Regions from separate parts of the Homo sapiens genome. Here regions 1, 2, 3, 4, 5 and 6 are each linked to region 7. The links are contacts of gene promoters, found by promoter capture Hi-C in blood cells and fetal thymus (Javierre and others, 2016). All regions are on one chromosome and are shown on one strand. The core of a region is centred on a gene start or on the middle of the fragment in contact, and the rest is flanking DNA. Distances in the headings are between cores, read along the strand shown. Region 1 holds the start of FLAD1 (flavin adenine dinucleotide synthetase 1). Region 2 holds the start of PYGO2 (pygopus family PHD finger 2). Region 3 holds the start of MTX1 (metaxin 1). Region 4 overlaps CHTOP (chromatin target of PRMT1). Region 5 holds the start of EFNA4 (ephrin A4). Region 6 holds the start of S100A16 (S100 calcium binding protein A16). Region 7 holds the start of HAX1 (HCLS1 associated protein X-1).

Region 1 (3,203 bases), core at 704-3,203, 710 kb before region 7:
GATCCCACCAATGCACTCCAGCCTGGGCAACAGAGTGAGACTATCTAAAAAAAAAAAACAAAAAAAACAAAAAAAACACAAATTTACAAAGAATATTAAAAAAGATTATTATTAAAACTTGACATTTGGCCAAGCTCAGTGGTTCATGCCTATAATCCCAGCAAGGTGTGGGAGGATTGCTTGAGCCCAGGAGTTTGAGACCAGCCTGGGCAACATAGTGAGACCGTTTCTGAAAAAAAAAAAAAAAAAAAAAAAAAAAAAAAAATTAGCCAGGTGTGGCGGCTAACACCTGTAGTCACAGCAACTCCAGATGCTGAGGCAGGAGGACTGCTTGAGCCTGGAAGATGGAGGCTTCAGTGAGCTGTGACTGTGCCACTGCACTCCAGCCTAGGTGACAGAGCAAAATCTTGTCTCAAAAACAAAAAAACCCGTGTCATCTGTTATGTCCTCTAGTAAGACTTTCCTGATCATTCGGAGGGGATTCATCCCTTCTAGTACCTTCCTTCTAGCTCACTTATCCACTACGCTGAGTACCTTGAGTCATTTCCAAAAAGGCTGGGTAAAACTCTTTTTTTTTTTTTTTTTTTTGAGACGGAGTTTCGCTCTTGTTGCCCAGGCTGGAGTGCAATGGCACGATCTCAGCTCACTGCAACCTCCGCCTCCCACGTTCAAGCAATTCTCCTGCCTCAGCCTGCCAAGTAGCTGGGATTACAGGCATGCACCACCACGCCTGGCTAATTTTGTATTTTTAGTAGAGATGGGGTTTCTCCATGTTGAGGCTGGTCTCGAACTCCTGAACTCGTGATCCACCCGCCTCGGCCTCCCAAAGTGCTGGGATTACATGCGTGAGCCACCGCACCCGGCCAAAACTCTTAAATATACAATACACACACCTGTACCTCCTCTACTCGAGGGGCTTCCTGTCATTGTTGTGTAGCTCCTCTGCCCTCTACCATACTGCTTGGTAAATTGCAATGACCTTTTTATTTTTCTTTTTTTCAATCAGCTCTCTCAGGTTGAAAAATTGTAGGGACTTTGCTACAAGTTTTTCAGTAGAGTAATTGAAAGAATGAGGGTTAATTTTCCTCCAATATGCTGGATTCACTCCAGGATCCTACTGCAGCAAAGAGGCTCCCACCCTGTTTCACCTCCTTCCATGGAGGGATGTGCAGCAGGCCCTTAAGGACAGGAGAACGCAGCGCCCTCCCCCCTTTTCTGTCCCAGACACACCTTAAGGATCTCATCTCCAACAATGATGATGCCAGCCGTCACGCTGCGCCCCGGAGAAAGTTCAGAGGCCCTAGATGTCATGGTCCTGCCTTCTCTGCCCCTCTGCAAGGCCCTCCAGTAGCCACCCAGACCCCCAAATAGGGGTCGCAAGCACGGGGGGCCTGCCAGGTCTACAGGGCACTGGGGGCCATAGCCTGGGAACAGGGGGTCCTGGGTCGAGGGAACCTGGAGAAGCCAGAAAAGACAATGGGGGAGAGCAGGCGTGCGCGTGCTTCCTTCGAGGAAGACCCTAGTCTTCTCTAACCAGATCCTTGACAAGCGACTCCTTTGTTCCTGCCTCTGGAATAAACGTGTTCCCAAATCCCAACCCATGTCCTTTTAAATGTCTTGCTTAGCTCTAGTCTTAAAAACTTCTTCTCTCTTGAGAACCTACCACTTTAAGTGTCTTCCGTTTGCTGAGCTGGTCTCCTCAAGTGTCTGCTCTACCTTGGGCATCCGTACCCCTTTAAATGTCTACCTTATCCTGGGCCTTGGCCCTTTTCAATGCATTCGCTCTCCACCCCGGACCAAAATCCCGTCTCTTTCTACTTCAGGCTTCTGCACCCTTTCTAGCCCAGAATCCCTTCTTCCCACCAAGCTTCAGATTACTGAGCCCTCTTAGACTCTCACCTGCCTGTTCTGCCCCTTCACCGGCTCTTTCCCTTGTTCCTTTCCTCATGTCCCGGGGCAGCTTCCGTACTTAAAGTCCCGCCTTGCACCTAGCTGACATTGAATGGTGATTTTGGCTGTCGCTTAGACTCTTCCAGGGTCCCATTGGTGTATTCAACTGTCGCTCTCAGGCTTTAGCCAGTGGATGGGAGCAGGGCCGGATTGTTATAGGCGACAACCACGTGGTCACTTCTCGCCCGGAAATACGGGGGCCGGACCTTAGCCCACGGTCGGGGGCGGGACCTCGGGAGTTTAGGGCGGGAAAGGAGCCGTAGTTAAAGGTGCTGTAAGGCCCTCGGGGAGTTTCTGGTGCTGGATTCAAATAATTGTTATGCATGTGTTGCTTTGTTTTGTTTTGTTTAATGGGTCAGTTAGCCATGGTTTAAGCTGTTTTCATTCACCGTGACTCTAACACTAGGCTAAGGGCTTTTACTGGAGTGAGAAAGCATCTTATTTATAGCAGAAGGAAGTTGGAGGGACACCGAGAAAGATTATTACCACTGTCTGTCGGATATGAAGACCCTGGAGTAGGTGAGCTTTTGATGTGTGGAACCTTAATTTATCTCTAGTATAGTAGACAAAACGAATTACTTAAATCTCTTTGACAAGAAAGAGTCCAAAAACCCTCTCTTCCTCCACCTTGCTCCAGATGGTGCTTAGTTCAAATGACCTTTCCCAGTAATTGGTCTTGTAGGTGCAAATGAGGCAGCGAATAGGGAGTGCCTTACATGTTTACTCTGGATCCTCACATCATCCGAGCTTACCCCCATTTCAGTTGCCTTTGTTCTAAAAGTACATCTTAAACTTTTTTCCAACAATAATCTGGGGATCTTTTCATATGCAGATTGATTCAGTAGGTTTGGGTGGGGCCTGAGATCTGCATTTAGCTAGTTCCCATGTGATGGTGATCCCACTGCTCTATGGACTACATTTTGAATGGTAAGGGCCCGAATTCATTCTTTGTTTTTTTGAGACGGAGTCTCCCTCTGTCACCCAGGCTGGAGTGCAGTGGCGCGATCTCGGCTCACTGCAAGCTCCGCCTCCCGGGTTCACGCCATTCTCCTGCCTCAGCCTCCCGAGTAGCTGGGACTACAGGCGCCCGCCACCATGCCCGGCTTTTTTTTAAAAATTTTTTTATTTTCATTTTTTTTTTAGTAGAGACGGGGTTTCACTGTGTTAGCCAGCATGGTCTCGATCTCCTGACCTCGTGATCCGCCCGCCTCGGCCTCCCAAAGTGCTGTGATTACAGGCGTGAGCCACCGCGC
Region 2 (3,204 bases), core at 642-3,141, 690 kb before region 7:
GGGTTTCATATCCAGCTGAGTGAGAGGGTTTGAGTCAAAAGCCTGGGTGAGAATCCTGCCTCTCCCCAAACATTAATCACCAAAGTATTAATGTACAGAGTGGCCCCTCACCTGGGCCTTTCCTGTGCCAACCTGATGCCCCTTCCCCAAGAAGGTGAGTGCTTGTCATGGAAAATGTCCTGTGGTGACAGGCCCAGTGGAACAGTCACCCTTCTGGGCAAGGGGGAACAAATCACACCTCTGGGCTTCAGGGTATCCCAGACCCCTCTCAACACCCGCCCCCCCCATGTTTAAACTTTGTGCCTTTGACCATCTCTTAGGTCTAATGATATTTTATGCAAACAGTTCTTGGACCCCTGAATTCAATGACAGGGATGCCAACACCTTCTTGGCTTCTGGGACCTGTGTTCTTGCTGAGCACCCTCTCCGGTTTGGGTTGGGATAACAGAGGCAGGAGTGGCAGCTGTCCCCTCTCCCTGGGGATATGCAACCCTTAGAGATTGCCCCAGAGCCCCACTCCCGGCCAGGCGGGAGATGGACCCCTCCCTTGCTCAGTGCCTCCTGGCCGGGGCCCCTCACCCCAAGGGGTCTGTATATACATTTCATAAGGCCTGCCCTCCCATGTTGCATGCCTATGTACTCTACGCCAAAGTGCAGCCCTTCCTCCTGAAGCCTCTGCCCTGCCTCCCTTTCTGGGAGGGCGGGGTGGGGGTGACTGAATTTGGGCCTCTTGTACAGTTAACTCTCCCAGGTGGATTTTGTGGAGGTGAGAAAAGGGGCATTGAGACTATAAAGCAGTAGACAATCCCCACATACCATCTGTAGAGTTGGAACTGCATTCTTTTAAAGTTTTATATGCATATATTTTAGGGCTGTAGACTTACTTTCCTATTTTCTTTTCCATTGCTTATTCTTGAGCACAAAATGATAATCAATTATTACATTTATACATCACCTTTTTGACTTTTCCAAGCCCTTTTACAGCTCTTGGCATTTTCCTCGCCTAGGCCTGTGAGGTAACTGGGATCGCACCTTTTATACCAGAGACCTGAGGCAGATGAAATTTATTTCCATCTAGGACTAGAAAAACTTGGGTCTCTTACCGCGAGACTGAGAGGCAGAAGTCAGCCCGAATGCCTGTCAGTTTCATGGAGGGGAAACGCAAAACCTGCAGTTCCTGAGTACCTTCTACAGGCCCGGCCCAGCCTAGGCCCGGGGTGGCCACACCACAGCAAGCCGGCCCCCCCTCTTTTGGCCTTGTGGATAAGGGAGAGTTGACCGTTTTCATCCTGGCCTCCTTTTGCTGTTTGGATGTTTCCACGGGTCTCACTTATACCAAAGGGAAAACTCTTCATTAAAGTCCGTATTTCTTCTACCTCTGCCTCTTAACCCTTCTGGGAAGCCTATTGTGTACGCCGCGGGCCCTCAGCGGCAGACGGGGAGGCGGGAGGTCGCGGCCGCCCAGGGAAGCTGGGGGTCTGCAGAGTTTGGGTGCGGCAGAGTGGGGCGTTTCGCGCCACCGTCCCCATGGGGATGTCGTGTCCGCAGAGGGGGCTGGCTCCGGGTGGGTCGAGGCGGGAGCCGGGCCTGCCCGGCGCCCCAGCACCGGCCCCCGGGCTACCTGGGCCTCCCGGGTGCGCCTTCGGCTCGCGCGCGCCCCTCCGCGGCGGCTCCACCGCCCGGGATGGTACGGTCCGGCAGCCGGGCCGCGCGCTGCCGCCCCTCGGTGAGCTGGTGTGGGCCGCCGCTAGCGGAGACGACCCTTTCCACTCGCGTGGTGCCGTGGTAAGCCTCGTCCCTCGCCCGCCGCCTGTTTTCAGGCGTAGCGTCTCGTCCGGTCCTTGCTCCCCCTCCCCGCAGCGCTCAGTGGTGGTGGCCGCGACGAGTTCCGGTTCCGGTTGCTGCCGCCGCTGGCGGGCGGCGAGTCTGGAGAGAGCGCGCAGTTTGCGCGGCGGCTCGGCGCTTCCCTGTCGTCGCACTTTGTGGTTGCTGCAGCTCGGGGGCCTGGGCTGCCCCTGACACCCCTTCTGGGCGATGGTGCAGCCCAAGGGCGCCTCCATCCCCCGCCGCTGCCGCTAACCCGGGTCCCCCACTCCATGGCCGCCTCGGCGCCGCCCCCACCGGACAAGCTGGAGGGAGGTGGCGGCCCCGCACCGCCCCCTGCGCCGCCCAGCACCGGGAGGAAGCAGGGCAAGGCCGGTGAGCGCGCTGCGAGGGGCGGGGGCTGAAGAGGCCCAGGACTTGGGAACCTCAGAGGGGAGGGATGGTGGGCGGGGGGTGTTTCACAGTCTGAAGGCTTGAAGGGAGGCTCAGGTGAAAAGGATGGGTGGGTGTAATCCTCCAGGGGTTGGGGGCAGGTGTCACACATTGAGGACTCTAGGGTTTGGAGCCACATGGAATTCAGTACTCACTTGGAGCTTGAGGATATCGAAAGATGGGATATCTTTCATTTAAAGGAAGACGTAGCTGAGAGTATGATCATCTTCACAATCTATTTTTCATATTGCACCCCTTGTTAGCATTTGTTGAATAAATAAGCAAGTATGTATTGACGTTAAAGGAGTTCCTCAGAGCATGGCTGAGAGAAAAGAGGTTGGGGAAACCTCAGGGAAACTTGTCTGCGTCTTCCTTTTGCCGCTCTTCCAGGTCTGCAAATGAAGAGTCCAGAAAAGAAGCGAAGGAAGTCAAATACTCAGGTGAATGGTGGTTGGTGGTGGGTTTGGTTCCCAGCAGCCCCTTGGCGGCACACTGTCTACTCTGCCATTCCAGTATCTGTTTGTATCTTGTATCAGCTGCAGGGAGGAGAGAGAAAACTGTCTTTCTTGCTTTGCTTCTTGTTCTTTCGCTGAACCTTATAACAAGTTTAGGGGAAAGTATCCTCTCCTAAGAGATGATTCGACCAAAGTTCTTACCACGCAGGGTTCCAGTCTCCTCCATGTTTCCTGTCCTGGTTTCCTCCTGATGATAACGTAACACCTACCACTTACTGATCCTTTTTTTAGTGCCAGGGATTGCGCTAACATGCTTTAACAGTTTGGGGAGATAGGCATTATCCCTATTTTACAGATGAGAAATCTGGGGGTTAAAAATGTTAAATACATGCTCCACAGTCTTGAGGTTGTTTTTCAGGGTCAGAGCTGGGATTCCATCCTAGTTCTGCCTGTTTTTAAAACATAGTTACTGCACTATGTTGGTTCCACTCTC
Region 3 (3,374 bases), core at 180-2,679, 940 kb before region 7:
AATCCTTTCCTCTATCTCCTCTCTTGCCATCTACCTGGTGAACATCTATCCTCAGAAGCTTTTCCTAACCAGTATCCCTCTTCTTGGAAGCACTGATAATGCCCTTCTCTTTGGCAGTATCTGTGGTCTGTTCCTACTTTAACTTATATGTGAATATTTTATTATATTTATTTGCTTACCTATCTGCCTTTCTGTAAACTCGAAGGGAGGAACCAAATTTTATTCATCTTTGCCTGGCAATGTTTAATATTTGGAAGAAATCTAATAGATCCTCTTTAAAGCAAGGAGTCAATGAATAAATGAAGCAAAGGAAGTCTGATTGCTAAGCTCTTTATACAAAGCCTGGCTGTGAGTCGTTTGGTCTAACAAACAATAGCCTCAGTAAATGCTGTTAAGTGAGGAGGAAGAGGAGAAGGGGGCTGAGGAGAAGGCAGGAATTCCAAGCTAGAGTAGGTCCCTGAGACAGTCCAGCCTAGTAAACCTCCGAATGGAGAAAAAAAATGCCCAAAGAGAAAGGATCTCCGCAAGGTCACACAGCCAGTGAATGGATGAGCAAGGACTAGAACCCATCACCTGAACTCCCAACCAGGCGTCTTTTCATTGCTGCATTAAGCCTAGAAAACTACAGCATAGGGCACTGAGGCCATATCGGCCACGTACGCTCTTTGACTGCCTCAGTTTCCCCCACTGCGCCCGTGCTGAGTAGCCCTGGCAAGGTTTGGATGCTTGGCTAGTTCGGCCCCCTCCCCAGTCATCAGGGCACAGCAGAGGGCGCCGGCGCCACCCCTCACCAGCACGGCCAGGCTGTCCAGGTCCACTGACGGCAGCCCCCAGCCCCCTGACCAGCAGAACAGCTCCATGGGCGCCGCCATCTTGCCCACCCTCTGTCCCGGAAACACTTCCTTGTGTGCTTCTGCCCTCCCCTGCCTGGGCCCGCCCCCCGCCACCGCCCCTCCGATCGTTGCGGTCAGGGGGCCTGGGGAGATCCCCGGGGAGGCGAGGCTTCTTCTGGCCCGACTGGCAGCTGAACTGCGGGGGACTGGGCCGCGGGCCTCGGGGGAGGGCGGCCGCCGGCCCATCCAGAGGTGGCCCACGTAGCGGGACAGCGCTGTCGGCCCGGCGCGCCTCGGAGAGTCACGGCGCCTCGTCCAAGTGGAGCCCCGAACCCCTGAAGGCGCGGCAGGCTCTGGAGAGCGGGGTCTTGTGCGCCTGGGCCAGGTCTGGGGGCTCTTGCCAAACTGCACGTGGCCTGTACTGCTCCAGGGCCCCTTGGGGCTCGTCCCCGAGCGGGGACTGCGGGGGGGTCCCCCGAGCAGCATGTTTTCCACAGCGCGTTATGTTTGGAGCGGGCCCTGCGCCGCCTGTCGCCATGGAAACAAAACAGGGGCGGTGGCGGCGGCCGGAGCGGAGGCCGGGCTGGGGCTTGGGTGGGGGAGGGGAAGAGAGGCTCGCAGGCTGTCGCTTAGGTGACGGGAACTCAGGCGCCCCTCTGCTTCATCCGGGTCACGGCCCGTCCGCTAGTACCCACAGTGTTCCACAGTCTGGTCCTTGGCTCCTCGCCTGTACCCCTGGTCTTCTGCGCCTGTCCCTGGTGTCCCTTTCCTCTTTTTTGGTTTCTTCACTCTGACCTCACTGACCACTGCTTTAGATTCTCCCTTCAGTTCCCGTCAGACGCTTCCAGACTCCCAAGCTTTCCTACGAATGAGGGAAAATGGAGAAACAGGCACTTGTCAGGGGACCCCCCACCCTAATAAAGAGCACTTGCTCCGCCAGAACAGCAAAATTCATGCCATGTGGGCATCCCTGGGCACTATAGCAAGCTAGTTGCGGCCACTCCCTTGGCATCCTTTCCTGCCAGCTGTGGAATAATGCCCACTGTCTAGCACTGCCCCTGCCAGGGGTTCTTGCCTTCCACAATCGTGGCTTCCAGAAAACAGTGGCATTCGGTAGCGCTGTGTGCCGAGACCCCCAACAATGATGACTGCGGAGAGGGAGGCACCTGGGGGAGGATCATTAGGGAGAGGTAGAAAGCAGGGAGGCCTCCAGGATTCTTTCCCAGTGCCCCTGGTTCCCAGAGCTGATGATGCCTCCAGGGTGATTGGCAGCTCTTTGTTTCAGCCCCCCCTCACCCGCCTGCTGGCCCCCCCTCCAATTCTGTCCCTCCGCCCCCCGGCTCCTGCTCTCTCCGCCTAGCCTTTTCCCCTCCCAGCTGCCTGCCTGCCAGGGGTAGTGAGCCGGCTGAGAGGCATGGAGACGCAGGAACTTCGGGGGGCCCTGGCTCTTCTCCTCCTTTGCTTTTTCACATCTGCCAGTCAGGATCTGCAGGGTAAGCCTGTCTCCATCCTCTTAGACCGCTCTCTGCTTCTTCCCCATTTGCCCTCAGCCCAAGTAGCAGAGAACATGTGGGCAAGGGGAGAGGGGAAGAGTCCAGAAATTGAGCCAGAGGAAAACTTAAGACTGCCTAGAGTTGGTGAAATTATGGCCTGGTGGAGAGGAGTGGGCACCGGAGAGTAGTGGGGGAGCTGGAACAGGACAGGGTCAGGCATGAGGCCAGGGCAGAGGACTCAGGAACTGGATGCTCAGGCTGCCTGGCTGGGGTGGTTCCTGAGCATCTGTAGGCACCCTAGGGTCTGGGAGAGCAGCCTGAAGGTGGGCGTACTGTAGGTCCCTGGGCTTCGTCCCCCTGGGCTCCTGGCTGCCCAAGGACAGGGCGGGGGTGGGGACCAAGAAGCCTGGGCTCTCCCGGAGGTCTGGTGGTGGGATGGGCCGATGGATGTGGGAGAGGTAGCTGGAGCAGATGACACAGGCATAGATTCTTTACTGGCTGGAGGGAAAACCACAGATTGGCCAGGACACAGGAGGCAGAGGAGCTGGGTCCTACATTCCCGTGGGAGATAGCCCAGATGGTGGGAGGGTTAGAGTCCTCAGTGGGCAGCTGTTCTTATCCAGAGCGAGTGTGCTGCGCCCCTAGGATGGGAGGAGGGGAACTAGGGTGTGGAACGAGCCAAACCCAGGAGTGGAAAGAGAAGCTGCCTTCCATTTCTACGTTGTGGACACCAGGTGCCACTCCTGTGGGGGATCAGCACAGCATCTCCTTTGCGCCACCTGGTGGGGGCATCTCAAATTTGTGGGGTGCTGTTTCTGTGTTTCCAAGTGAGTCTCAAACCTGCAGGTTCCTGGAAGGTAGTAATAGGCAATAATGGGGAAAGGAAGGCACAGTGCCTCTGTCCTCTGAGAGCAACAAGGGTTGAGGTTTTTTTTTGTTTTCGTTTTGTCTTTTTGAGATGGAGTTTCACTCTTGTTGCCCAGGCTGGAGTGCAATGGCGCGATCTCGGCTCACTGCAACCTCCACCTCTCAGGTTCAAGCGAGTCTC
Region 4 (3,586 bases), core at 435-2,934, 630 kb after region 7:
GTGAAACCCCATCTCTACTAAAAATACAAAAATTAGCTGGGTGTGGTGGCACATGTCTGTAGTCACAGCCACCCGGGAGGCTGAGGCAGGAGAATCGCTTGAACCAGAGAGTTGGAGGTTGCAGAGCCAAGATCGCGCCACTGCACTCCAGCCTGGTGACAGGAGCGAGACTCGGTCACAAGAAAAAAAAAAAAAAACATCATTAAAGTAGCCATGGCATTTTGAGGCACCTCAAATAAAGAGAGTCCTGGGTGGATTTAAGCGAACAGTTTGTTATAATGAACCAGAAATACAAGATTCCACTGAAACTGAACAGTTGACAGAATATGGTTGAACTTAAACCTTCAAGGGAAACAAGGGCAAAACAAAGCTAATGAGTGGAAAAGTCCAAGATTAGTTTGGGATAAACATGAGGATATAATTGCATTTTAGCATGGCTATCTTCTGACCTCTTCCAGCAGTTCGTCTGCCATCATTCTCCCTTCTGACACACCTACCAAATCAAATGGCTTCTGATCCTCTATATTGCAGTATAAACCAACCCTATAGTACCCCTCTGGTCATGATACAAACCCAGAAGGAAAGTCTGTAAATCTCATACAAAGGTAGAAAGTGCAATTCAACCCAACACGCTGGTTATGGTATATGTGCTGTCAATGTACATGGTAGCAACTTGAATCAAACCAGAGCTGCTACCACATGTAAGCAACCTCTTATGCTGCCCTGTAGTGATGTCAATGTTCTCAGTTTACTAAATTATCAATGTGGAAGAACGCATTTTTGAGCTCCAGACCTTCTAAACATTTTAAACAGGCTATCGAAGAGGATGTAACAGAACCCTATTTCAGAAACCTAAGGATCAGGGAGGAAGGAACACTGACCGGTTTTTCTGGGATGTTTCTGTGGGGGCAACAGGGATGAACAAAAGAAATGTTAGCATGTCAGAGCATATGACAAGTGAGGGGAGACAGAGGTAGGAAGAGGGTGTTCTAGCCACAAGGCTAATGCATTTGTGTTCAAAGAGAAGTCTGGGCAAAGGAGGGGAAACCCCCCCTCCCCCCTAAAAAAACAAAAACAAAAAACCAAATCAAAGGACAAAAGGGTTTCATACAACACAGTATCAAAAAGTAAAAGGAACACACTAAATGCACAAGCTGGTGGCAAGTAAGTCCACAGCCTATTGTGATAGGTCCATCCAGCATCAATCAGATTTCTTCTCATCTGTTATCTCAAGGTTATTTACAGATGTGTTGACTAACAAGAGTCTCTCATGGGAGGATGGGCAGGCTTCAATCATTGGTTTCGGGATCTGTCTGCGCCATGTAGGCATCCAACTCAGCATCCAGGTGTCCTTTTGTTTTCGACATATATGCATCCAATTGGTTGTCCAGCTGCTCCTTGGTCAATACAGGGCGAGCAAGGGCACCTCTCCCTCGTCCACGGCCTCGGCCTCGGCCTCCAAAGCCCCCTCTTCCCCGACCTATCATACCCCGACCTGGCCCAAAGGGGAAAAAAAAAAAAAAAGAGACAGTTACAAGTAAGTTTAATAGGTGCTGTAGTAAATGCCCCTTAGAGCAGTGGGGCCTAGCTGAGAAAAGCTGAAGGGCAGGGCAAAGAGGAGAAATCTGGAAAAAAAGGAAACACAATGGGTAGAAAGCAACACATGGAAAGCACACATAATGAATCCTCTATCACATGATCATCTCTAAATGCTATTTTAACAAATTTTATTCTATCAATAAAGGAAAATAATTAACTGGCAACTATAATTTTAAAAAACCTTAATCAATCCTAAGATAAAATTACCTAACATTTGAGATTCACTAAGTTCATAATTAAAATACATGACAGATAACCCCATTTGGTAAGATAGGGAGGTGGTAACAAGAGCACAGAGCATCAGGGGTGTGAAGACAAGACAGTTTTCAAATTAAGTTTATTGGAGACCCTTCTGGAAAGTCATCTCACCTGTCCTTAAACTTATCAAGTCTAATGAGCTAGCTGACCTCATGTGTCAGGAGACTGAGTTTTTCTGACACAGGAACAATGTAGGGGAGATTTGAAAAAATATTTTGAGTTGTCCTAGCTATTTCTACCTTTAATTCTAGTTACCTTATGACAACTGACAATTGTGGTTATCTGAGAAGCAGTGTGAATTCAGTTAACAAAACAAACTCAGCTTTTTGAAAAGCTATTTTAGTCTCTCCCACCCTCGTGATGTCTCTCAGGATCCAAGTCAAGATAATTTGGAAACATGTTATTTCATCCTGAAACCCAAACTAGCTTGCACTTCACTCAGTAAGTATCATATAATGGGAGAGAAGAAAACAAGCCCTTGGTTATCAACTTTTCTTTCCTAACAGTTATTATTCCTTGGCAACTTCAAGGTCATAAGTTATGGAAGACCCAAGACACCTTTTAAGAGAACCAAAGCAAATATACACAGGGGCTTCAATAGTGTTTTTTTTCTGGACAGGTGTTGGGAGTTTTCCACTAAGCTCTAAACCAGAAGGCTCCCATGAGATTTAGTATTAACAGCAGCAACATCATTAAACTCTTTCCCAATCTGGGTCATGAGGTCACAAGACAAACATCAATAAATTTCAAAGGCAAGATTATCAATAAGAGCCAGTTAGTTAACTGATAATAATTCCATCTTGCTCTCTACCTTAAGCAAAAAAAGTCATCTCTGGTTCTCCACAGGCACCAAATGTGACATTGAATTTATTTGGTTTCAGAGCCAATGCCCAGCTCCAAGTCTCACCACCCTCTTAACTCTACTTCATCTTTGTATCTCTCTCTCTCTTCTATATTCTCATGTGACTCAAACCAGGATTTGGAGCTACAGGGTGGTATGTGGTGGTGATGGTGGTGGGACAGGGGCAGAGAAAGGCAAAACCCTAAACTGACCATTTTGGGGGGTATTTTCAACTATACAATTTAAATTTGCAAGAGCTTGGAGGAAGATGGCATATAATCTGGCTCTATAATATGCACTTGATTGATTCTTGGAAAAATCATGAGACTTTTGCACTACCAGCATGGTAATTTGAAAAATAAGCCAGTTTCAAATAACAAAACAAGACAAACAAAGAAGCCTGCCTATGACTTGAAGCTGTGCAGAAAGGTGGCTCTGAGTTTTTAAGGGAGGAAAGTAAGGGGGAGCTACTCTCTGAAGTTGGTAGCTGACTAACCTCTACCACCGATTCCGCCACGACCCATAGCTCCACGCCCTAGGCCCCCTCTCCCAGGACCTCCACGACCTCGAACACCACCTCTTCTTAAGCCCATTCGGGGAGCTACGGCTCGTCCACCTCGGAGCAGGTTTTGACCTTAGAGAGGAGGCATACAATGTATATGCAGGTAAATCCAAGAGACACAAAGTAGATTCTAACCAAAGGAAGGCGGTGAGGGTTAAATGAAGGTAATTCAGTTAGTTTTTAGGTTGGCTGGGGCAAGCTGCATACTGTGAACAGATTAAGCTACTCTTTATTCAATCAATTCAACAAGTCTGACCACAAATCCATTTTTGGAAGTTGGGAGTTAATTCAATTAGTAAGTACATACATTTAATAAATATCTACTG
Region 5 (3,424 bases), core at 925-3,424, 790 kb before region 7:
ATATAAAAAGAAAACTAGCCGGGCGTGGTGGCGGGCACCTGTAGTCCCAGCTACTTGGGAGGTTGAGGCAGGAGAATGGCGTGAACCCGGGAGGCGGAGCTTGCAGTGAGCCGAGATTGCGCCACTGCACTCCAGCCTGGGAGACAGAGCGAGACTCCATCTCAAAAAATAAATAAATAAATAAATAAATAAATAAATAAATAAATAAATAAAGGCCATGAGTGGTGGTGCACTCCTGTAGTCCCAGCTACTTGGGAGGCTGAGGCGGGAGGATCCTTAGAGTCCGCAAGTTCCTGTAGTGAGCTATTATGCCACCGCACTACAGCCTGGGTGACAGAGCAAGACCCTGTCTCTAAATTCTAAAAATTAAAAAAAAAAAAAAAAAAAGAATGAGGGAGTGGGTGCTAGGTGCCTCCCTTTTTTGGCCAGGAGGAGCAAGTGCCAGGCATGGGGGGAGTCCACATACTACCCAGTCTTCAGTCTTCTCAGGACTCCCTTCCCCACCTCTTGGGAGCTGCCTGGGGAAGCCAGCACAGGTGGGAAGGGCTGGAAGGGGCTGCTCCCCACAGTACTGAATGCTGCATGAACCACCCCCCATACCACAAACACAGCGAAGCATGACTTAGGAAAAGCCTCCAGTGGGTGGTCCAAGGACGACCTGTATCAGTTCTGATTAGAAATGAAGATTCCTGGGCTCAGCCAGCCCAGACTTACTAGAACGCAAGCTGAGCAAGGACAGGGCCTTGGTAAGTTTTGTTCTACTGCATCCCCCGTGCCTGGAAAAGTGCCCAGCACAGGACAGTGTTCAATAAATATTTGTGGATTGAATGAATGAGCCAGAAACCTTAAGATTGGGGGGTGAGAAACCTGAATTTTTAACAGGTCCTCCAAGTGATTCAGAAGCTTTGGTCTGTGACAGAGATAGAGAATTCAGAGTCCAAGGACAACAAAAGCTCTTATCACTTGTTATTGGTATTGTAATGACCTGTCTTTATGCAGGCTCTCCTGCCTGCGCCTGTTCTCCAGAGAGTCTGTGGAATCCCAGAGGGCAGGGTCTTGATCTTCTCATCTATATAGTTAATCCCCTGCAACCTAGCACAGGGCCGGGCACACACAGTATGTGTTTAATAAATAAATGTTAGTGAGTGAAGAAATGAATAGTCACAGATTGTCTCAAGTAGAAAATCAGAAAGAAAAACAGATAGGAAATAGGAGAGGCAGGGAGACTTGGGGAGGGGGATGGAAACAGTAAAATATACTAAGGTTCAAAGGCAGGCAGCTCAGGAGAGAGAAAGAAATAATAGTTTATATCTGTACAGCCTGAGCCTCTTTCACATACATGACCTCACTTACCCTGCCAGACTTCCCAGGGTACTAGGTATTATTAGCCCATTATACAGGTGAGATAAATGAGGTTAGGAAGGTCACGAGACTTGCCCAGAGGTGATTCGGCTAGAAGGGCAGGGCTGACACTGGAAAGAAACAGAAGGACCAATAAAGACAGAGATGAAAGCAGAGATAGCAAATGAGATCAGGAGACAGAGTGAGAGCCAGAGGTGAGACCCAGCGGGCAGGAGAGTAACCCACGCTCTTTCATAAGAGTAAAGCCCCCTCCCTCGCTCTCAAGTTCGTCAGCCACAGCTCCAGCCTGCGGGAGGCTGGGGATCGCCAGGAGAGCAGCGAGGGGGGCGGAGCCCGGAGTGCGGGCAAAGGCCCCCCCAGCTCCATGCTCCAAGACCCCCTAGACAACCCTTGGGGCTGGGGTCTTCTGCCTGCCCCCCAACACATGCGGGCTGTGGGGAGACCCAGGGCGCGCCTCGCCCCTCGCCCCTCCCCCCTCCCCCGCCGGCTCAAACAAAGGAGCCCCGGCGCGCGGCCAGGCTCAGGCGGCGCCGCGCAAAGAGCGGGTGGCGGGCGCGCGCAAAGCCCGGGAGCGCGCAGACTTGGCTGTGCGCTCGCCCGGTTCGGCCCGGCTACCTGGGGTTACTGGAGTTCCAGTAGACTACGTGGCGGAGGCTGGAGCCCCCGCGCAGAGGGGAGCCGAGGAACGCGGCCCAGAGGACAGTCCGCAGCAGGGGCAGCAGCCGCATCGCCCCCGAGGTCCGGTTTGGTCTGGCCTGGCAGGTCCCGGCCCGCTTCACAGTCGAGGAGAGAAAGGTACAAAGTGAAGAGGGAAGTTGCGGAAAGGGGAGTGGGGTACGGAGATTCACTGACCCCGCCCCTGAATAACTTTCCGCCAATGGGAGCGCGTCTCCTCCTCTCCACCCAGCGCCAACTCCAGTTAACCCTCTGTGCACCGCAGCGCGCGCCAGGTTCGCCAAAGCTTCCACTGAGGCTGCACCGCACTGCGAGGGGGCGGGAAGGAAGGACGTATTCCAACAGCAGTATTTTTAGGGAGGTCATCTCTTTCGTGTCTGCTTTAGTGCAGGGTAGACTGCCTTATTAGAAGTTTGGAAGATTTTAAATAAGGGTACATAACCTTTGCCCAGATAGGGGAAAGTGAGGCGCGGGCGAGGATCCATGAAGCCTGTCCAACCACCTTCATGCACTGCCCCGTTTTCTTTGCACATCTAGGGACAGTGCAAGCGGAAGGGACAACACAGCTCTGGGACCACCTTCCCTAAAGAGCCTTAGGTGGCGCGCTAGATGCTCACTTTAGGATTGGCGTCTGTCCCTTGCCGCTCCACACCTTCGTTCCGGGCTGGGGGCCCACGCGGCCCCAGTCCCTAAGACGAAGTAATGAGGTGGTTGCGGCCTGTACAAAGCACCTTTGTTCCCGATCCCTCAGGTGGCGGCGGCGGAGGGGGAGGAGGCAGGTGCGCGGCCTTGGGATCGTGGGAGCAGCCGCCGCCCCGCTCCGCCCTGGCTCCTGGGCTCTGGGAGCATCAGCCAGATCCACTTTTCCCAGCCAATGGTCAGAGTGGGGACGGCAGGTCCAACAGCTTGACAGATTGCGCCGAAAGCCACCCCAGTCTGGGCAGAGGGAAGCTGCGAGCATCCCGGGGACACACGCCGACCCTTTCTGGTACTCCCGCCCCACACAGCCCGCCCTCGTCTGAGGCGGCAGCGTCTTCTGGCGGCCAAACCTGGAACCGCAGCAGGAGCGACCCGGGTTCTAGAAGCAGACAAACTCTGGGGAACGCTCCCAAGATGTCACGTTTATTGCAACTGAGCAGAGACAGGCTGTGCGGACCTTCCTCAATCCCGTCCAACCCCCAGCCCCTCCCCAAGCCCCCGCTGCAACTACGCCGGCAGGTCCGCAGAGTGTTGCTTGACAGCGCGTGGCGGTGCCCGGAGTCTTAAGACACCGCCAGTCTCTGGCGCCTTCAGTCATGGTAGGGGACTCCAGAGGGCACGCCCGCCTCTTGAAGCCCTAAGTCCGGCTTGGAGGCAGCGGAACCTCCGGAGAGGTCAGAGGTAGAGC
Region 6 (3,384 bases), core at 604-3,103, 660 kb after region 7:
CTGGGCAGCTGCAATGACTCTAAACTGGAGTTCAGGAGTTTCTGGGAGCTGATTGGAGAAGCGGCCAAGAGTGTGAAGCTGGAGAGGCCTGTCCGGGGGCACTGAGAACTCCCTCTGGAATTCTTGGGGGGTGTTGGGGAGAGACTGTGGGCCTGGAGATAAAACTTGTCTCCTCTACCACCACCCTGTACCCTAGCCTGCACCTGTCCTCATCTCTGCAAAGTTCAGCTTCCTTCCCCAGGTCTCTGTGCACTCTGTCTTGGATGCTCTGGGGAGCTCATGGGTGGAGGAGTCTCCACCAGAGGGAGGCTCAGGGGACTGGTTGGGCCAGGGATGAATATTTGAGGGATAAAAATTGTGTAAGAGCCAAAGAATTGGTAGTAGGGGGAGAACAGAGAGGAGCTGGGCTATGGGAAATGATTTGAATAATGGAGCTGGGAATATGGCTGGATATCTGGTACTAAAAAAGGGTCTTTAAGAACCTACTTCCTAATCTCTTCCCCAATCCAAACCATAGCTGTCTGTCCAGTGCTCTCTTCCTGCCTCCAGCTCTGCCCCAGGCTCCTCCTAGACTCTGTCCCTGGGCTAGGGCAGGGGAGGAGGGAGAGCAGGGTTGGGGGAGAGGCTGAGGAGAGTGTGACATGTGGGGAGAGGACCAGCTGGGTGCTTGGGCATTGACAGAATGATGGTTGTTTTGTATCATTTGATTAATAAAAAAAAATGAAAAAAGTGAAACATGTTGTCTTGACTGGACACCCCCTCCCTGAGGGTCCACGGGTGAGAGGAGCTTGGGGGTGAAAGGCAAAGTCATTGGTAGGGTGGGGCACGTGGGGCTGGAGTGGTTGGCTGTGGAAGTGAATGGGGACTCACTTTTCCCTATGGGTTTGGGTTGAGGGTGGTACCAGGTCCAAAAGGGCAACATGGTCCTCTCTGAGGGACAGGCTCCTCTTTGCCAATGGGCGGGCCCTCTTATAGGAGAGGAGGGTATGTGTGCACACTTGGGGAAAAGGATATTAGTCCAGGTGTTCTGAGCCCTGGCTGGCACAACCAGGGAAATGGGGTGGGTGGGGGTGGGGGGCGGTTAGAAACAGGCTGACTGGCCTGAGTTTGAATCTCAGATCTGCCACTTATCATTGGAATTTTGGGCATGCTCTTAGTATCAGTTTCCTCATCTGTAAAATGGGGGATATGAATATTACTTCCACAGGATTGCCAGGAGGACAATGCCACACATCATGTAAAGCACTTACAGAGAGCCTGACACATGGTGAGTGCCCAGTGACCCAATATCATTCCCGCTGGAGTGGGCAAGTGGGCCCCTCTTTGGTTTCAGCTGCTGCCCTAGTGTAGGGAGGTCGAGCTGGCCAGTTTCCTTGGGTATCTTAGGGAAACGGTGGGGTGTGGGGAGTTTCCAGAGGAGTCTTCTGGTGTACATGAGGGATCTTAGGGCTGGGTCTCAGTAGAGCTGATGGGTCAGACTAGAGACAGAAGACCAGGGAGCCAGACAGGTCCCTGGCATCTGCCTTCTGATTTGAGCACAGAAGTCGGGCGTTACTCCTGAAACCCCAGTGGCAAGGAGGTTTCTGTGGCCAGTTAGGCTGGCCTGGAATGTTAACTGAACTTGTCTGTTGGGAGCCCCTGAAACTGGGATCCCAGTGACCCAGGTGAGAAAGGCAGGTGATAGTCCTTCCCTTCCTTTCTCTACCCTGTCAGGTTCTGCTCAGCCCCTGCGGGGCTGGGAGGGTGGGGTTGGGGGAGTGCCAGTTTTCACCACTCCCTCTGGGATGGGGGTAGAGGGGTGTGAAAAAAGGTGTGTATCCCTTTAACAAGGGCCCAACCCCAGGGCCAAGTCAAGAAGGAGCTCAGCCACTATCTCCCCACCGAGCCAGCTCAGCGGGCAGGGCTGGGAGGGAGTGGGACAGATTCTGGGAGTGCAGCGGGGAGGAGTCCCGGCTGGGCTGAGCGCAGGGAGCTGCTTGGCAGTGCCAGAGCCCAGGCCCCAGAGCCCTGCTGGAGAGGAGGCAGACTGAGGCAGCAGGTGAGCACCCTGGGCCCGGCCTGGGAGGTCTTCGGCTGCCGGAGGGCCCCACAGTATTGGGAGGCCAGGAGAAGGGGCAGTGAAGGGGGCCTGGGGAGAGGGGCCTGCCAGAGAGCAGGCAGGAAGATTTTGGTAATTATTAACTTTCTCCCACAGGCCAGTTTAGGAATGGGGAGTCCTGGGGGGTTGGGGGCTGGGTGAGGCCTTTAGAGGGATGGATGGGATGGTGAGACCCCCTCCCTGCCGCAGCAGCTGACGGAGCTCCTCTCCAGGGGCAGAGTATTTGGAAGCTTTGACCACAGCTACTCGATCCTCCCCAAAAGGAGAGGACAAATGCGTGTTGGTCTGGGTTGGGGGTGGTCAGAGCTTGGACACAGGCCTTGCTGGGCTCTGGGAGCTGTGTCCTAGGGGAGGTGATGGGGTCCAGAAGGAACCAGGCAGTTTCCAGGGAGCCTGAGATTCCGAGAAGAGGAGGCGGGGGCTGAGGTGGCGTCCCCTCTACCTCACGACCCAAGCAGACCCCACTGTGTTCCAGGAGCTGTTCCTTGAGAGGGATGATGAGATCTGGGAGGAACCCGAGTGAGGCTGTGGGGAGCCTGCAAGCTCCCTGGGAGAGGGAAAGATAGAGAGAGGGGGGCTGAACCTCGGCAGCTCCTCCACCTCAGGACCCAGGCAGGCCCCGGCTTGAGCTGCTTTTCTTGGCAGAGCCACCTGCACTATGGGAGCCTTCCCCTGCCCAGCCCAGTGGGGATGGTGGTGAGGGCAGGGGTGCTGGGGAGCTGGCTCTGCCTTTCCCCACATTCTAGTAAGTGTTGTTGAGGCTGGGGTAGCTGTGTGTGTGTTGGGGGAGGCGGGGGCAAGATCCACACTGAACTCCTCCAACTTCACTTGCCTGGAAAAATTTCAGAGGCTGGCTTCTTGCTCCAAGAACTGAAGTGAGTGGAAGGGTGATGGGTCACCCAAGCAGAGGGGATCAGGAATGGCCGAGGTCCTTGCTCGGTGTGTGTGTGTGTGTGTGTGTGTGTGTGTGTGTGAGAGAGAGACAAAGAGAGTTAGACGCAGAATCCTGTGAGGATGGTAAGGGGTGAGGCAGGGCCAAGCAGGCCCCACTATGCTCCGGGAGCTGTTCCTGGAGAGGGCCTTGTGGAATTGGAGAAAGAACACAGGAAGGAGCAGAGAATGGAACAGCTGAGGCTGGAGAAATTTCATTTGAAACAGCCTTGCTGATAGAGGTGGCATTGTCAGCCCAGTTCGGATGGCACCTTCCCTATATATTGAAGTTAGAGAGGACAAATGAGTAAATGAAAAAGGGAATGAATGAATGAATGTGCAAGAGAGTGAATGCA
Region 7 (3,510 bases), core at 845-3,344:
CCAAGAATTATCTAGACCAGTGGTGTTTTTTTGTTTTTGTTTTTTAAAAGAAACAGAACACCCATCTCCCCCCAAAGAAAATCCCACAAGCTTAATATAGAAAACAGAAAACACTAAATGGAGGGCTTAGGATTCCAACCCAAGGCTATCAGATTCAAACAAGAATTGCAATCTTTGGCCAGGCATGATGGCTCACACTTGTAATTCCAGCACTTTGGGAGGCCGAGGTGGGTGGATCACCTGAGGTCAGGAGCTCAAAAGCAGCCTGGCCAACACGGTGAAACGCCATCTCTACTAAAAACACAAAAATTAGCTGGGCGTTTGGCAGGCGACTGTAATCCCAGCTACTCAGGAGGCTGAGGCAGGAGAATCACTTGAACCTGGGAATTGGAGGTTGCAGTGAGCTGAGATTGTGCCACGGCACTACAGCCTGGGCAACAGAGCAAGGCTGGGTCTCAAACAATTTTTGAGATGGAGTCTCCACCTCCTGGGTTCAACCAATTCTCCTGCCTCAGCCTCCTGAGTAGCTGGCATTACAGGCACCTGCCACCATGCCCGGCTAATTTTTTGTATTTTTAGTAGACACGGGGTTTCACCATGTTGACCAGGCTGGTCTCCAACTCCTGACCTCTGGTGATCTGCCCACCTCGGCCTCCCAAAGTGCTGGGATTACAGGCGTGAGCCACCGCACCTAGCCAGTCTTTGCACTTTATTAGTGGTCTCTCACAAGCTCTCACTTCAGGACCAGATGGGATACTCACCCTATGAAATGGCCTCTGGGAGCCCCAGTCTGGTGCTGGTTGGGGGGATTCACTTCTTGCATCACTCTCCAAGACCCCCCCAAAGATCCTGGGCTGGTGACTATCTGGATACTTAAGCATTGAGTCCCGAAGTGTCTGTCCCTCCCGTAGTCTCTCACCAGGTGTCTCTGACTCAGGACCTGGAAGTTCTGCAGAAAGGTGGCAGGTGTTTGCTGGGATGGGAAAGGACTTGGGCTCTATTAATCTCTCTGAAATCATCAGTCTTCTCACACTTCCCATCCCCCAGCTACTCCCTGCAGGCTCTTTATTTCACCCACCAACCCACCAGAAACCACAGGTTGCCCCTTAGGGAAAGCCACACACCAGGAGGATGGGAAGGCAAGGTCCAGGCCCCCATATCGCTGAAGATGCTATTGAAATCTCGTACTAGGTCATCAAAGCCGAAGTTATCGTGGAAACGTATCCCTCCTCCTGGGCTGAAGCTGAAGCCGAAGCCAAATTCCTCAGGGGGGTGCTGAGGACTATGGAACCTTGGGTTCCCACGGCCCCATGAGCCCCCTTCTTCTTCTTCTTCCTCATCATCATCTTCATCTCGAGTCATCCCTCCAAAAAAGGGATCTCTGTGGCTGAGAGTGGAGGCAGATTGGCCACCAATATTTCAGCACTATTTAAGCCATTAAATCAACTCATGGGTGGCAAAGTGGGACAAGAGCAAGGGGTCTGGGAAGCTAGGGAGAGGGTCGGAGGACTGGCTGCCACATCAAAACATTAATACAATGGCTGACAGTTCTTTTTTTTTTTTTTTTTTTTTAATCAAAGTCAGACCTCAGCTCGCAGCTCCCTTCATACACCTTCCCCCAGTTTTTCTTCAGTGTGCCCCAGTCCCTCCTCTCTCTCCCAAGGTCCTGCTCACTTGCTCACTGTCTTATTCCCCAGACCCTCACGGTCTTCCCCGCCCGGGTCCCTGTTGCATCACCCCAGGTTGGAGAAAGGCTTAGTTTGCTGTTTCTCCTCTTAATGACCGCCTTGGTTACTGTGGCGGGGTGAGTGTTCAATGTTGCGACTTCTGTCCTCTCTGCAGGAGTTGAAGGAGTGGGACAGAGGATGTTTTTCCAAAAATAAGACGTAGGGGTCAAGCTCCCCTCAGACGACCCCCACCCTTGTCCGAGCCGGACCTACTCTCACCTCCGAGGTCCAGGAAAGCCGAAAAAGCCCCGGAAGAGATCAAAGAGGCTCATTCCCGTACTGGGACGCGAACCTTTGAACCCCTCCAGTGGTCCATTCGCAGACGGGGGAAACCTGCGCAGCCCTGTGAGAAATTGAGCGAGGCGTCAGCCCACGCTACCGGAAAGCAAGCCCGCGATCCTGACACTGTCGTAAACGACGGTAAGCCGGACGTGAAATGGAGGCGGGACCGAAGGTCTTCCTCAAATTTGAAAGGCTTTATCTTTACCCCACCTTTCAGAGACCAGTTTCCGTGACGGGAGTGGGCGTGACGCACTTTCAGTTTCCTATGACCGCCTTCCTCCTAAATCTGTTCTTCTTTCTGCAGACCAACTCAGTACGAAAAGCGATTTCGAGGGTTTGACTCTGGATGGCACCCGGATAAAGCCGCCAGAGGGCAGCCCAGCCGCACAAATGGACCGGCTTGAGGGCGTCCCTCAACCACCCCACCCGCGGGGCTGGCCAGCCTCACAGCAGAAGCCACCTCGCTCCTTACTCGGGCGTTCTTTTTGACTGACCTGGGCGATGTCTGCTGTTAGAGGGATGAACAAAATGCTTTTCCAAGCTCCTTCTAGTATTGAATTTCCCAGAGAAGAGATCAAGACATAAGAGACGCATGGACTTAACTTCCTCCACCTCTCTAGCTACTAGGGAGTTTGTTATAACTATATAGAATTCTTTTTTCTAAGCAGGCTCTGCAACCAGCAAGACAAAGGATTTTTAAGAAAGCAAGGGAAGGGAAGCTAGTTGAGTCCTGAGAAGGAACAAATTGGGGGTTATAAAGAAATATCCCTTTGGTATCTTTTTTTTTTTTTTTTTTTTTTTTTTTTTGAGACAGAGTTTTCTCTCATGTTTCCCAGGCTGGAGTGCAGTGGCACCATGTCGGCTCACTGCAACCTTCGCCTCCCAGGTTCTCTCCTGTCTCAGCCTCCCGAGTAGCTGGGATTACAGTCATGCGCCTCCACGCCCGGCTACTTTTGTATTTTTTGTAGAAACGGGGTTTCACCATGTTGACCAGGCTGGTCTCGAACTCCTGACCTAAGGTGATCCGCCCAACCCAGCCTCCCAAAGCGCCTGTCCTCATTCCTTTTTAAAAGTGTTTTGTTCAAAACCTCTCCGAGACCTGTCTCTCCCTGTACCCCATCCCCAAGCCAGACCTTGCTCTAGATTCTTTTTCAAAGAATTGGGTATAGCTATGTCACAGAGAAGCATCCAAGAAGCCACTACTACAGTAGTCCATTCCTAGGGGGAATGGGCCCCAAGGTTTTGTTTTTTTATTTCGTTTTTGGGGTACAGGTGGTGTTTGGTTACATGGATGAGTTCTTTAGTGATTTCTGCGACTTTAGCGCACCCATCACCCGAGCAGTGTACACTGTACCCAATATGTAGTCTTTCATCCCTCACCCCACTCCAAGATTTAGTTCTGCCAGACGATACATGTTGCCTTCACTTCTTTTTAGTTTATTTGCCTGGACCCATCTAAGTCATACTTAAAACTCTATAAAGCATTTTTTTTCTTTGAAAT

The links. The method cuts DNA at HindIII sites, captures the fragments that hold promoters and counts their contacts. A CHiCAGO score of 5 or more calls a contact.
Region 1: the fragment with the promoter of FLAD1 here is called in contact with the fragment with the promoter of HAX1 in region 7 in 5 of 17 cell types (non-activated CD4 T cells, naive CD8 T cells, total CD4 T cells and 2 more); the score reaches 8.6 in non-activated CD4 T cells.
Region 2: the fragment with the promoter of PYGO2 here is called in contact with the fragment with the promoter of HAX1 in region 7 in 5 of 17 cell types (neutrophils, non-activated CD4 T cells, activated CD4 T cells and 2 more); the score reaches 13.8 in neutrophils.
Region 3: a contact is called between the fragment with the promoter of MTX1 here and the fragment with the promoter of HAX1 in region 7, in 2 of 17 cell types (activated CD4 T cells and non-activated CD4 T cells). The highest score is 7.1, in activated CD4 T cells.
Region 4: a fragment that was not itself captured here is called in contact with the fragment with the promoter of HAX1 in region 7 in 2 of 17 cell types (total B cells and neutrophils); the score reaches 7.0 in total B cells.
Region 5: the fragment with the promoter of EFNA4 here is called in contact with the fragment with the promoter of HAX1 in region 7 in 2 of 17 cell types (neutrophils and non-activated CD4 T cells); the score reaches 9.1 in neutrophils.
Region 6: the fragment with the promoter of S100A16 here is called in contact with the fragment with the promoter of HAX1 in region 7 in 6 of 17 cell types (naive B cells, total B cells, neutrophils and 3 more); the score reaches 16.9 in naive B cells.

The regions. Positions count from the first base shown.
Region 1 is chr1:154,982,094-154,985,296 of GRCh38, reverse strand. It overlaps FLAD1 (flavin adenine dinucleotide synthetase 1), which reads right to left and starts at 1,953. Exons shown (of 7, transcript NM_025207.5): 1 at 1,231-1,953. The coding sequence starts at 1,602. RefSeq lists a silencer at 2,041-2,220 and an enhancer at 2,103-2,700. The HindIII fragment of the contact is 2,398 bases long and covers 1,870-3,203 here.
Region 2 is chr1:154,960,469-154,963,672 of GRCh38, reverse strand. PYGO2 (pygopus family PHD finger 2) reads left to right here and starts at 1,891. Exons shown (of 3, transcript NM_138300.4): 1 at 1,891-2,199; 2 at 2,647-2,696. The coding sequence starts at 2,097. It overlaps SHC1 (SHC adaptor protein 1), which reads left to right. Exons shown (of 12, transcript NM_001130040.2): 12 at 1-1,375. PYGO2-AS1 (PYGO2 and SHC1 antisense RNA 1) reads right to left here and starts at 2,135. Exons shown (of 1, transcript NR_171036.1): 1 at 1,050-2,135. RefSeq lists enhancers at 804-1,543, 1,544-2,284 and silencers at 1,426-1,835, 1,886-2,345. The HindIII fragment of the contact is 6,114 bases long and covers 1-3,204 here.
Region 3 is chr1:155,206,750-155,210,123 of GRCh38, reverse strand. It overlaps MTX1 (metaxin 1), which reads right to left and starts at 1,429. Exons shown (of 8, transcript NM_002455.5): 1 at 792-1,429. The coding sequence starts at 1,319. THBS3 (thrombospondin 3) reads left to right here and starts at 2,227. Exons shown (of 23, transcript NM_007112.5): 1 at 2,227-2,326. The coding sequence starts at 2,248. RefSeq lists a silencer at 880-1,079 and an enhancer at 2,443-3,226. The HindIII fragment of the contact is 1,632 bases long and covers 61-1,692 here.
Region 4 is chr1:153,642,973-153,646,558 of GRCh38, reverse strand. CHTOP (chromatin target of PRMT1) reads right to left here. Exons shown (of 6, transcript NM_015607.4): 5 at 3,195-3,332; 6 at 253-1,495. The coding sequence ends at 1,290. Among named protein-coding and RNA genes, the nearest start is that of CHTOP, 11 kb to the right of the region's middle. The HindIII fragment of the contact is 7,820 bases long and covers 1-3,586 here.
Region 5 is chr1:155,062,490-155,065,913 of GRCh38, reverse strand. It overlaps EFNA4 (ephrin A4), which reads right to left and starts at 2,174. Exons shown (of 4, transcript NM_005227.3): 1 at 1,978-2,174. The coding sequence starts at 2,090. ADAM15 (ADAM metallopeptidase domain 15) reads right to left here. Exons shown (of 23, transcript NM_207197.3): 23 at 3,139-3,424. The coding sequence ends at 3,412. It overlaps EFNA4-EFNA3 (EFNA4-EFNA3 readthrough), which reads right to left and starts at 2,174. Exons shown (of 5, transcript NM_001407761.1): 1 at 1,978-2,174. The coding sequence starts at 2,090. DCST1-AS1 (DCST1 antisense RNA 1) reads left to right here and starts at 1,923. Exons shown (of 4, transcript NR_040773.1): 1 at 1,923-2,157. It also overlaps ADAM15-EFNA4. RefSeq lists an enhancer at 722-1,223 and silencers at 1,714-1,863, 2,154-2,303, 2,684-2,773. The HindIII fragment of the contact is 1,420 bases long and covers 906-2,325 here.
Region 6 is chr1:153,611,606-153,614,989 of GRCh38, reverse strand. It overlaps S100A16 (S100 calcium binding protein A16), which reads left to right and starts at 1,853. Exons shown (of 3, transcript NM_080388.3): 1 at 1,853-2,038. S100A14 (S100 calcium binding protein A14) reads left to right here. Exons shown (of 4, transcript NM_020672.3): 4 at 1-735. The coding sequence ends at 105. The HindIII fragment of the contact is 6,157 bases long and covers 1-2,330 here.
Region 7 is chr1:154,271,213-154,274,722 of GRCh38, reverse strand. It overlaps HAX1 (HCLS1 associated protein X-1), which reads right to left and starts at 2,094. Exons shown (of 7, transcript NM_006118.4): 1 at 1,947-2,094; 2 at 1,125-1,387; 3 at 762-949. The coding sequence starts at 1,999. It also overlaps a transcript of UBAP2L not described here. RefSeq lists an enhancer at 2,031-2,200 and a silencer at 2,338-2,478. The HindIII fragment of the contact is 9,202 bases long and covers 93-3,510 here.